Linked DNA regions of Homo sapiens: region 1 is linked to region 2. Evidence: promoter capture Hi-C in 16 types of primary human blood cells and fetal thymus (Javierre and others, 2016). All regions are on one chromosome and are shown on one strand. Each heading gives the region's core, a stretch centred on a gene start or on the middle of the fragment in contact. The rest is flanking DNA. Distances are from core to core; before and after follow the strand shown. Region 1 holds the start of ZNF549 (zinc finger protein 549). Region 2 overlaps ZNF256 (zinc finger protein 256).

Region 1 (5,847 bases), core at 1,445-3,944, 410 kb before region 2:
AAATGTGACAAAGTTTGAATGAAGTAAGATTTATTCATTCGTTTATGTATATATTTACTTCTGAGGCGGAGTCTCGCTCTGTCGCCCAGGCTGGAATGCAGTGGCACGGTCTCGGCTCACTGCAAGCTCCGCCTCCTGGGTTCACACCATTCTCCTGCCTCAGCCTCCTGAGTAGCTGGGACTACAGGAGCCCGCGACCACGCCCGGCTAAATTTTTTTGCGTTTGTTTTGTTTTGTTTTTGTTTTTGTTTTTTTTTTGAGACGGCGTCTTGCTCTGTCGCCCAGGCTGGAGTGCAGTGGCACGATTTCTGCTCACTGCAAGCTCTGCCTCCTGGGTTCATGCCATTCTCCTGCCTCAGCCTCCCGAGTAGCTGGGACTACAGGCGCCACCACCACGCCCGGCTAATTTTTTGTATTTTTAGTAGAGACGGGGTTTCACCATTTTGGTCAGGCTGTCTCGAACTCCTGACCTCAGGTGATCCGCCTGCCTCGGCCTCCCAAAGTGCTGGGATTACAGGCGTGAGCCACCACGCCCGACCCGTAAAACTCTTAAAATAAGAGGATCATGGCCGGGTGCAGCGGCTCTTGCCTGTAATCCCAGCATTTTGGGAGGCTGAGGTGGGCCGATCACCTGAGGTCGGGAGTTCGAGACCAGCCTGACCAGCATGGAGAAATCCCGTCTCTACTAAAAATACAAAATTAGCTGGGCGTGGTGGCACATGCCTGTAATCCCAGCTACTAGGGAGGCTGAGGCAGGAGAATCGCTTGAACCTGGGAGGTGGAGGTTGCAGTGAGCCGAGATCGTGCCATTGCACTCCAGCCTGGGCAACAAGGGCGAAACTCCATCTCAAAAAAAAAAAATAATAAAAAAATAAAAGGATCAGAAATAAATAATAGTGGAGACAAACGATTGTGATGCCCTACCTTGTTTTAACCTGATTGTCTCTCTCAGCTGAGAGAGCCAAACAGACTCCATTTTTGTTTCTTCACTTGCAGCCCCCTTATCCCCCTCCCTTAAGGACATAACTAGTGCAAGCTGACTCCAAGCACATCCAGGAATGCACTTACTGATAGACACTGAGGCACGCTGTACCAGCAGCTCCTAGGAACGCACTCAGTTAATGGTACCCAAAGCCCCTGCGTTTATCACTTTGTGATAATTAAGCCCCTGCACCTGGAACTGTTTATTTTCCTGTAAATGTTTGTGTAACCATTTATCTTTTAACTTTTTGCCTGTTCTGCTTCTGTAAAAATTGCTTCAGCTAAACTCCCCCTCCCCTATTTAGATCAAGGTATAAAAAGAAATCTAGCCCCTTCTTCGGGGCCAAGAATTTTGAGCTCTAGCTGTCTCTCGGTCGCTGGCAATAAAAGGACTCCAGAATTAGTCTCAGAGTGTGGCATTTCTCTATAACTCGCTCGGTTACAACACTATAGCCAAAGATTACATTCATAAAGATATTTTTACAATATAGGTGTCTTATTTAATATGACTCCAATCTAAATGGTAATTTTTCTAACCTTTCTTAAGTAATTATAAAATGTCAAAATTATAAACAATTAAAAACTAAAGAGAAATGAAGACAATGGATAGCAACAAAAGCTAATTGCTAAATATGGGGGAAAAAAGCCAGGCATGGTGGCTCATGCTTGTAATCCCAGCACTTTAAGGCAGGCGAATCACTTGAGGCCGGTTCTAGACCAGCCTGGCCAACATGGTGAAACCCTGTCTCTACTAAAAATACAAAAATTATCCGGGGGTGGTGGCGCATGCCTGTAGTCCCGGCTACTCGGGAGGCTGAGGCAGGAGAATCGCTTGAACCTGGGAGGTGGAGGTTACAGTGAGCAGAGATTGCACCACTGTACTCCAGTCTGGGCGACAGAGTGAGACTCTGTCAAAAAAAAAAAAGGAAAAAAAGAAAAGAAAAAGAAGATATAATGTTTCTGCAATCTCATTTCAGTTCCACTTATGATAATAGATACATTATGTAATTTAAGTCACTAACACTTGAGGGCAAAAAAACAGAATAAACACAAACGTGTGGGATAAGGGGATGCTGACCCCACTGTTAGTGATCACCTTGGTTGGAGACCCAGGTTTTATCATACAGATGAAGCCTGCAGGTAGCAAGTTTCAGAGAAATAGATTGTAAATGTTTCTTATCAGACTTAAGGTCTATGCTGATGTTATTGCTGTAGGGGTAGAATGAGGCATGTCCAACCCCTTCTTCCATAATGGCCTGAACTAGATTTTCAGGTTAACTCTATAATGCTGAGAGGAGGGGGTCCATTCAGATAGTTGGGAGGCCTTTGAATTTTATTTTTGGTTATAGTTTCTACATTAAAAAAAAGAAAAAAATTAAGGGTCGCGTCAATTCTCAATTGTCAACATTTTTAATGTATTGTATGCAATATATGTCAACTTTTGTGTTGAGAAATGAAGATCAAATCGTATTCTTTTATCCTGTGTATGTAATAGGCTTTGCTGACCCTAGTTTGATGGGTTTTTTCCTTTGTCCTCTCTTTCTTGGATTGAGTCCTCACAGCGCGGCGGACTGCGGCGTGGTAGGAACTACACCACCCAGAATACTGTGCGCCGAGCGTGCCGGGGCCTTAGACCAATCATTGCCCAGGAAAGGGGCACCTCCGTAAGTGCGCAATACGCCAGAATCTTCCGGCGTCTTTCCGGTGGTGGTCGTTTTTGCTGCCTGCGAGCGCGTCCGCGGGCTGGGCGTTTCCGGCTCGCTGGGTCCGGGCCAGGTAACTGGAGCCGGAAACCGGTGGAGGTGGTGTCCGCCCGCAGAGGAGCTTGCCTGGTCTCGGTCTGAGCGTCGCCCAGCGATTTGCCACCGCACGCACGCCGGATCCCGGGCTTTACCGCCCGCCTTTCCAGGCCCCGCCCCGCCTAAAGTCCCATGGCCGAGGCAGCGCTAGTGATTACGCCGCAGGTGAGAGCGGAGTCCTCGGATCCTCACCTGGGTCCTGAGGCCCCGGACTGGGGTCACCTGCGTGGGTCTCTGCAGTTCAGGCCTCTTCTCCAGGACAGCGAGGAGTTCTGGGTGGGGTCCTCAGAGCTGACGGGCGGTGAGGTGAAGAAGGGAGAGCGTTGCGTACCGTGGGGGCTGCACGCGCAGAGCCTGGGAGGTGCGCCGGGGTCGCGAGCATTCGGAAACTTGGGGGCGGACCTGTGTCTGCAGGGAGCAGAGAGAATGAGGAGAAGAAGGCACGGCTGCCATGGCAGCCTGAGCAACCGGGGTTTTTAATTCTGAGTCTTTGGGAGCCATGGAGGGTTGTGAACTAAAGGAGAACACGATCTGAGTGAGGGTCTGAAAAAATATTTCAAAGGCAATGAGTGGAGAAAACAGACTGTTACGGAGTGATGGGGGTGGACGCAGGGATACTGGTGAGGAGACTGCTGTAGTAGGCTCCAGGAGGATTATGGTGGATTCTGGACCAGACGGGTTGCTGAAGGGACCTAAGTAATAAGAATCTTGGTAGATCTTAAAGGTAAAGCCAGCAGGATTTTCTGCTCCATCATTTGTGCCTATGAGCAAAAGTGGGAGTGAAGTATGATCCCAAGTTTTTCTTTTACCTGAACATCTGGAAGAGTTGACAAAGAAATCTGGTGAGGGAGCAGGTTTCAGGGAAATAGTAGGAGTTGAATTTTGGACGTGGTGTTTCTAAATTGCCACAGAGTGAAGTTGTTACATGGGCAGTTGGAATCATAAGTAGAAAATTCATGGGAGGGGACTGACTCAGTGATGTGTAAATGGAGACAGGCTGGGGCGTAGACTCAAGCCAAGCCTTAAATTTAGACGGGAAATCTTAAGGTTTTACTTTGAGATGAAGAGAGGGAGGGCTGAGGCTGGAGGCTGGGAAAGTGTGGGTCGGCCTTGGCGAAGCTGCCTGCAGATAGGAGGGCCATGGGGTTCCGGGGGTACTTCCAAAGGGAATGTGTAAGGAATACACACTGCATAGGATGGATTTGAGGGTGGGACACTGTGTAGAGTCACCATTCAGAAGACTTGGCGAACTGTTCACTCTATGTGGAGCCAGAGAAAGGTCAGCCAGACTAGCAGAGAAGCCCAAGCCCAGCAAGAGCAGCTCTCCCAGGAAAATACAAGTTTAGACTGTATAGATTTAACAAATTAAATTTATGCAAGCAATTAGTTAACCGAATAAAATGTCACTATAACTCTGTGCTCTAATAAAAAATAAATGTTTGTTTTTTGTCATGCTTTCCTGGCACAGAATTCCTAAAATCGTTGTAATTTCCTCAGTGAAAAGTGTCTTGTGATAAGTCATGGACCGCATAACAACAGTGTTGACCACATCAGTGACGGTGGTCCCATAAGATTATGATACCATATTTTTACTGTACCTTTTCATTTTCTTTCTTTCTGATCAGGAGGCAAACTGCATTTTCTAAGTTTATAAATGTTTAAATGCACAAATAATTATCACTGTGTTACAGTTGCTGACAGTATTTAGTATAGTAACTTGCTGTACAGGTTTGTAGCCTAGGAGCAATAGGCTATACCATTTAGTAGTTGAACAATGAATGTCTGAACAGTAGTTCCCCCTTATCCTCAGAGGATACCTTTCAAGAACCCCAGCGGAGGCTTGAAACTGCAGATAGTACCCAACCTATATATACTATGTTTCTTCCTAGACTACATACCTGTAATAAAATCCAGTTTATAAATGAGGCAGTATAGGAGATGAACAATAATAACTGGAAATAATATAGAACAGTTATACTTTATAAGTTAATAAAAGTTAAGTAACTGCAGTTGAGACAATAAAAAAGCAAAAGTTAAATTATAAAAAACATGTGAATGTGGTATCTCTCTAAATATCTTACTGTACTATTCACCCTTGTGATGAAGAAGGGACTAAACTCGATAGAGTGAGATTTCCTCACACTACTTACAATGGTGCACTGTTGGCCAGCGCAGTGGCTCACACCTGTAATCCCAGCACTTTGGGAGGCTGAGGCAGGCAGATCACAAGGTCAGGAGATCGAGACCATCCTGGCTAACATGGTGAAACCCCGTCTCTACTAAAAATACAAAAAATTAGCCAGGTGTGGTAGTGGGCGCCCGTAGTCCCAGCTACTCCGGAGGCTGAGGCAGGAGAATGGTGTGAAGCTGGGAGGCAGAGCTTGCAGTGAGCCGAGATTGCACCACTACACTCCAGCCTGGGCGACAGAGCGAGGCTCCGTCTCCAAAAATAAATAAATAAAATAAATAAATAAATAAATAAATAAAGGATGGTGCACTATTTAAAACATGAATTGTTTATTTCTGGAATTTTAATATTACTATTTTCAGACTGAAGTTGAAATTTAATACTTATAATTTTCACACTGAAGTTGAGTGTGGGTAACTGAAACTGCAAATAGCAAAACAGCTGATAAGGGAAGACTTCTATACTTGAGTTTTATGAGATGGCTTAGGGTGAGCAGACAAGGTGGAGTCTCTAGATAGCCTCAGAGTGGAGTCAGTCACCAGAAAAATCAAGTGATTATAGAATTTGAACTTTGAGCCCCACCTCTGGCATCCAGGGAGGGGAGCAGAGATCTGGAGATTAGGTTATATAAAATCTTGAACAATGAGTTCTAGAAGCTTCAAGGTTGTGAACACTTGGAAGTGCTGGGAGAGTGACGTAAGAGAGCGTGGAAGTACTCTGCCTTACCCCCTCTCCCAGTACCTTGCCATATGCATCGCTTCCATTTGGCTGTTCCTGAGTTACATCCATTATCATAAACTGGTAAACATAAGTAAAATATTTTCCTGAGTTCTGTAAGTGGTTCTAGCAAATTATTGAACGTAAGGAGAGAGGTCATGG
Region 2 (5,123 bases), core at 1,979-4,478:
GGCTACAAATCCAAATTCGTGTATCACTTTATACAATCGTTTAGACACAGAATGCTTGCACTGGAAGCAGAGGCTGATAAACATTACTCTGTTATAATTCACATGAATGCACTCTTGTTACCGGATAGAATGTCTTGGCTGTGAGTTGTCCAGTTGTTGGCGCATTGAACAAAGAAGTGAACAAAACACACAAAAAAAGCAACGAAAGAACGGACCAATGAAAGCGCAGATTTATTGAGGGGAAAGTACACTCCACAGAAGTGGAATGTAGGTGTGGGAGCAGGCGACCAAGCGGCTCAAGAACCCCGATTACAATGTTTTTTAGGGTTTTATTAGGTTGGTGCAAAAGTAATTGCGGTTTTTGCCATGAATAAGCTAGAATTTTATAATACCCCAAGAGTTCTTTAAAGGCCTCCAATCCTATGAAGGACTGGTGCACAACCAATCAGAGGCTGAAGTGGAGACTTCTGTCTTGTTACCACAGGAGTGAGGACGTGGCCTGTGTGCTGCCTCATCTTGCCTAGAACTAGCTGCACCTGCTGTTCTTTTGCTTATGCCTTCATTCTTGGTTACCCTAATTCCCTATTCTCCTGCCTCACTCTGAGGCATTAGAGTTGGTTTTTCAGTCTGCCAGGGACAAAAGAGAACTAATCCAGATAGGACCATGCCAAGGAAGATAGAGGAGAGGCTAAAGAAAGAGTACAAAGGTCAATCAGTCGTTCCCATGGAAAAACAACTCTCCTGCTTATATAGTCAATTATTGTGTCCAATTCATTCAGCAAAACATTTATTCATGTAATATCCCTTACTTGGTATTCTAACTTATATTTTCAACTCATTTTAGGAACTTGAAGTCAGTCTCAGGTAAAGAACAATGAAAGAGAAATCTCAGCTTGGTATTGGTAATGGTGGTGATAATCTCCACCTGGAGACACTAGGCGTATGTTAAATTATCGAGCTTGTTATCTTTCCTGGGAAGTGATTATCATTTGTTTCTCTTGTGACAGCGGGGAGTGTTCTGCATGAGGAACTAATATGATACCAGAAAAACAGGTGAAATGCCAGTTACAGAAACTTATTACCAACGACTATCTAATAACTGCGATGACAGAAATAGGTCAATTGAAACATGAGTGGATGGTGAAAAAAATTTACACTTCACAGAAGTTTTTCTTTCTTTTTTTTTTTTTTTTTTTTTGAGACAAAGTCTCGTTCTGTCCCAGACTGGAGTGCAGTGGCGCCATCTTGGCTCACTGCAACCTCCACCTCCCGGGTTCAAGCGATTCTCCTGCCTCAGTCTCCCAAGTAGCTGGGATAACAGATGCCTGCCACCACGCCCAGCTAATTTTTGTATTTTTAGTAGAGACAAGGTTTCACCATGTTGGCCAGACTGGTCTCAAACTCTTGACCTCTGACCTGCCTGCCTCCTTCTCCCACAATGCTGACATTACAGGCATAAGTCACTGCTCCCAGCTGACTTTACAGGTGTTTGTTTGTTTGTTTGTTTGTTTTGAGAAGGAGTTTCACTCTTGTTGTCCAGGCTGGAGTACAATGGCACAGTTTCAGCTCACTGCAACCTCCTCCTCCTGGGTCAAGCAATTCATTCTCCTGCCTCAGCCTCCCAAGTAGCTGGGATTACAGGTGCCTGCCACCACACTCAGCTAATTTTTGTATTTTCAGTAGACACAAGGTTTCACCATTTTGGCCAGGCTGGCCGCAAACTCCTCACCTCAGGTGATCCACCCGAGGTGGCCTCCCAAAGTGCTGGGACTACAGGTGTGAGCCACCTCGCCCGGCCCAGAAGTTTTAACAGTGATGTCTACGAAGAGATGGAATTAAGGTCAGCATGTGATTAAAAATGTCCCCCTTGTTGGTTTTGTCATTGAGATTTTTTTTTCTTTATTAAAAACATTGAACAATACCAAGGTGGAGAAAAATTGTGCCTGTTCACCTACCTACTTGGGAGGCTTAGAGGGAGGATCACTTCTGCAAAGGAGTTTGAGGCCAGCCTGGGCAGCAGAGCAAGACTCTGTCTCCAAATAAATAATTTAATGAATAAGTAAAAACAGAAGGTGAAATCTGCAGTATAGTATTATCCTCATAGAATTGTGTCTCCCTTTCTTCATTATTCTGTGTGTCAATTATGTTACAAGTTTTTCATCTTATAGGAAAAAAGTCATAGATTCTATACACATCTGTACTTTTTCTCACTTAGCAATATGGTTTGAACAATGAAAAGCTTCTTTTTCACTTCACATTTGAAATCTGCTTATCTCCACATTCTATTTTTTTCTCCCCTTTTTGAGACAGCGTCTCACTCTGTTGCCAAGGCTGAAGCGCAGTGGCATGATCAAGGCTCAACTGCAGTCTCAACCTCTCAGGCTCAAGTGATCCTCCCATCTCAGCATTCAGGAGTAATTGGGACTATAGGCATGCACCACCACAACCAGCTAATTTTTGAGAGATGTGGTTTTGCCATGTTGCCCAGGCTGGTATCAAACTCCTGAGTTCAAGCAATCCTCCTGCCTCGGCCTCCCTAAGTGCTGGCATTATAGGATTCGGCCACTACACCTGGCCTATTCATCTTTTTCTGATGTAGAACCCACTCAGTGACAGTGTAATCAAGAATCAAGAAAGAGGCCAGATGCAGTGGCCATGCCTGCAATCCCAGCACTTTGGGAGCCTAAGGTGGGCAGATCACTTGAGGTCAGGAGTTTGAGACCAGCCTAGCCAACATGGCAAAAACCCGTCTCTACTAAAAATACAAAAATTAGGTGGGTGTGGTGGCGCACATCTGTAATCCCAGCTACTCGGGAGGCTGAGGCAGGAGAATTGCTTGAACCCGGGAGGCAGAGGTTGCAGTGAGCTGAAATCGTGCCACTGCACTCCAGCGTGGACAACAGAGCAACTCCGTCTCAAAAAAAAATAGAGCCAGAATACAATACACAAGCAACTGAAGTATTTCAACAGCAAAGAAACCCTCAAACAATCCAATTTAAAAATGTCAAACGATCTGAATAGGCATTTTTCAAAAGACAACATACAAACGGTCAAAAATATATTAAAACACACTCATCACTATCTGGGAAATGCAAATCAAAACCGCAATGAGGTATCACTCTCCCCGTTTAGGATAATTATTATCAAAAAGACAAAAACAGACGCTGGCAAGGATGCAGAGAAAAGGGAACTAATGGCCAGGTGCGGTGGCTCACATCTGTAATCCCAGCACTTTGGGAGGCCGAGCTGGGTGGATCACGAGGTCAGGAGTTCGAGACTGCCTGACCAACGTGGTGAAACCCTGTCTCTACTAAAAATGCAAAAATTAGCCAGGCGTGGTGGTGCGTGCCTATAATCCCAGCTACTCAGGAGACTGAGGCAGGAGAATAGCTTGAACCCGGGAGACGGAGGTTGCAGTGAGCCAAGATCATGCCACTGCACTCCAGCCTGGGCGACAGAGAAAGACTCCATCTCAAAAAAAAAAAAAAACCCAACAAAATACAAGAAAAGGGAACTCATGCACTGGTGGTGCAAATGCAAACCAGTACAGCCATTATGGAGAACAGTATTGAGGTCCCTCTAAAAACTACAAATATGCCAGGCGCGATGGCTCACGCCTGTAATCCCAGCACTTTGGGAGGCTGAGGCAGGCGGATCACGAGGTCAGGAGTTCGAGAACACCCTAACCAACATGGTGAAACCCCGTCTCTTCTAAAAATACAAAAATTAGCAGGGGTGGTGGCACGCACCTGTAATCCCAGCTACTCAGGAGGCTGAGGCAGGAGAATTGCTTGAACCTGGGAGGCGGAGGTTGCAGTGAGCCAAGATCACACCACTGCACTCCAGCCTGGATAACAGAGTGAGACTCTGTCTCAAAAAACAAAACAAAACAAAACAAAAAACTACAAACACAACTACCATATCATCCAGCAATCCCCCTACTGGGAATTTATCCAAAGGAAAGAAAATCATCACATTGGAGACACATCTACACCCCGTTTACTGCAGCACTATTCACAATAGCCAAAATATGGAATCAACCTAGATGTCCAACAACAGATAAATGGATAAAGAAAATGTGGTTTATACACACAAAGGAATACTATTCAAAGAACAGAATGAAATCCTATCACCTGAGGCAACATGGATGGAAATGGAGGACATTATTTAAGTGAAATAAGCCAGGAACATAAACATGCACATTCCCACTCATATGTGGAAGCTTTAAAAAAAAAAAAAAAAAGCTGGGTGCGGTGGCTCACGCCTGTAATCCCAGCACTTTGGGAGGCTGAGGCGGGTGGATCACCTGAGGTCGGGAGTTCAAGACTAGCCTGACCAACATGGAGAAACCCTGTCTCTACTAAAAATACAAAATTAGCCGGGGTGGTGGTGCATGCCTGTAATCCCAGCTACTCAGGAGGCTGAGGCAGGAGAATCGCTTGAACCCAGGAGGCAGAGGCTGCGGTGAGCCAAGATCATGCCACTGCACTCCAGCCTGGGCAAAAAGAGTGAAACTCCATCTCAAAAAAAAAAAAAAAAAAAAAAAAAAAAAAAGCCTGGGAGACAAAGCAAGACTGTCCCCCACCCCCACAAAAAAAAGTTGATCTCTTAGAAGTAAAAAGTAGAACAGAGGATACTAGAGGCTGGGAAGGGTAGTGGGTAGGCAGGAATAGACAAAGATTGGTTACAAGCTACAAAATTACAACTAGACAGGAGGAATAAGTTCTAGTGTTCTATACCACTACAGGAGAACTAAAGTTAATAATATATAATTTCAAGTTGTTAGGAGAATGGCAATTGAGACTGACTGTTCCCAATATAAAGGAATGACGAATGTTTGAGGTGATGGATATGCTAATTACTCTGATCACTCTAAGTTATAGGTATCAAAACATCACTATGTACTCCAGGAACATGTACAATTATAATTTGTCCATTTAAACACAAAGAATTTTTTTAAAAAAAGAAACCATTTGGTTTTCTGTGTGGATATGAGACAAAGTAGTATGTACACATATAAACTTATTTGTATAAAACAAAATTCAGAGAACATATACTAAATATAAAACATGGTTATTGAAAATACGTATTTATTTATTTATGTCTGTGAATTTTGCAGGGAC

The links. The method cuts DNA at HindIII sites, captures the fragments that hold promoters and counts their contacts. A CHiCAGO score of 5 or more calls a contact.
Region 1: a contact is called between the fragment with the promoter of ZNF549 here and a fragment that was not itself captured in region 2, in 1 of 17 cell types (non-activated CD4 T cells). The highest score is 6.2, in non-activated CD4 T cells.

What each region holds. Positions count from the first base shown.
Region 1 is chr19:57,524,662-57,530,508 of GRCh38, forward strand. ZNF549 (zinc finger protein 549) reads left to right here and starts at 2,695. Exons shown (of 4, transcript NM_001199295.2): 1 at 2,695-2,945. The coding sequence starts at 2,913. The HindIII fragment of the contact is 12,430 bases long and covers 1-5,622 here.
Region 2 is chr19:57,935,760-57,940,882 of GRCh38, forward strand. ZNF256 (zinc finger protein 256) reads right to left here. Exons shown (of 3, transcript NM_005773.3): 3 at 5,074-5,123. Among named protein-coding and RNA genes, the nearest start is that of ZNF418, 2.9 kb to the left of the region's middle. The HindIII fragment of the contact is 1,983 bases long and covers 2,238-4,220 here.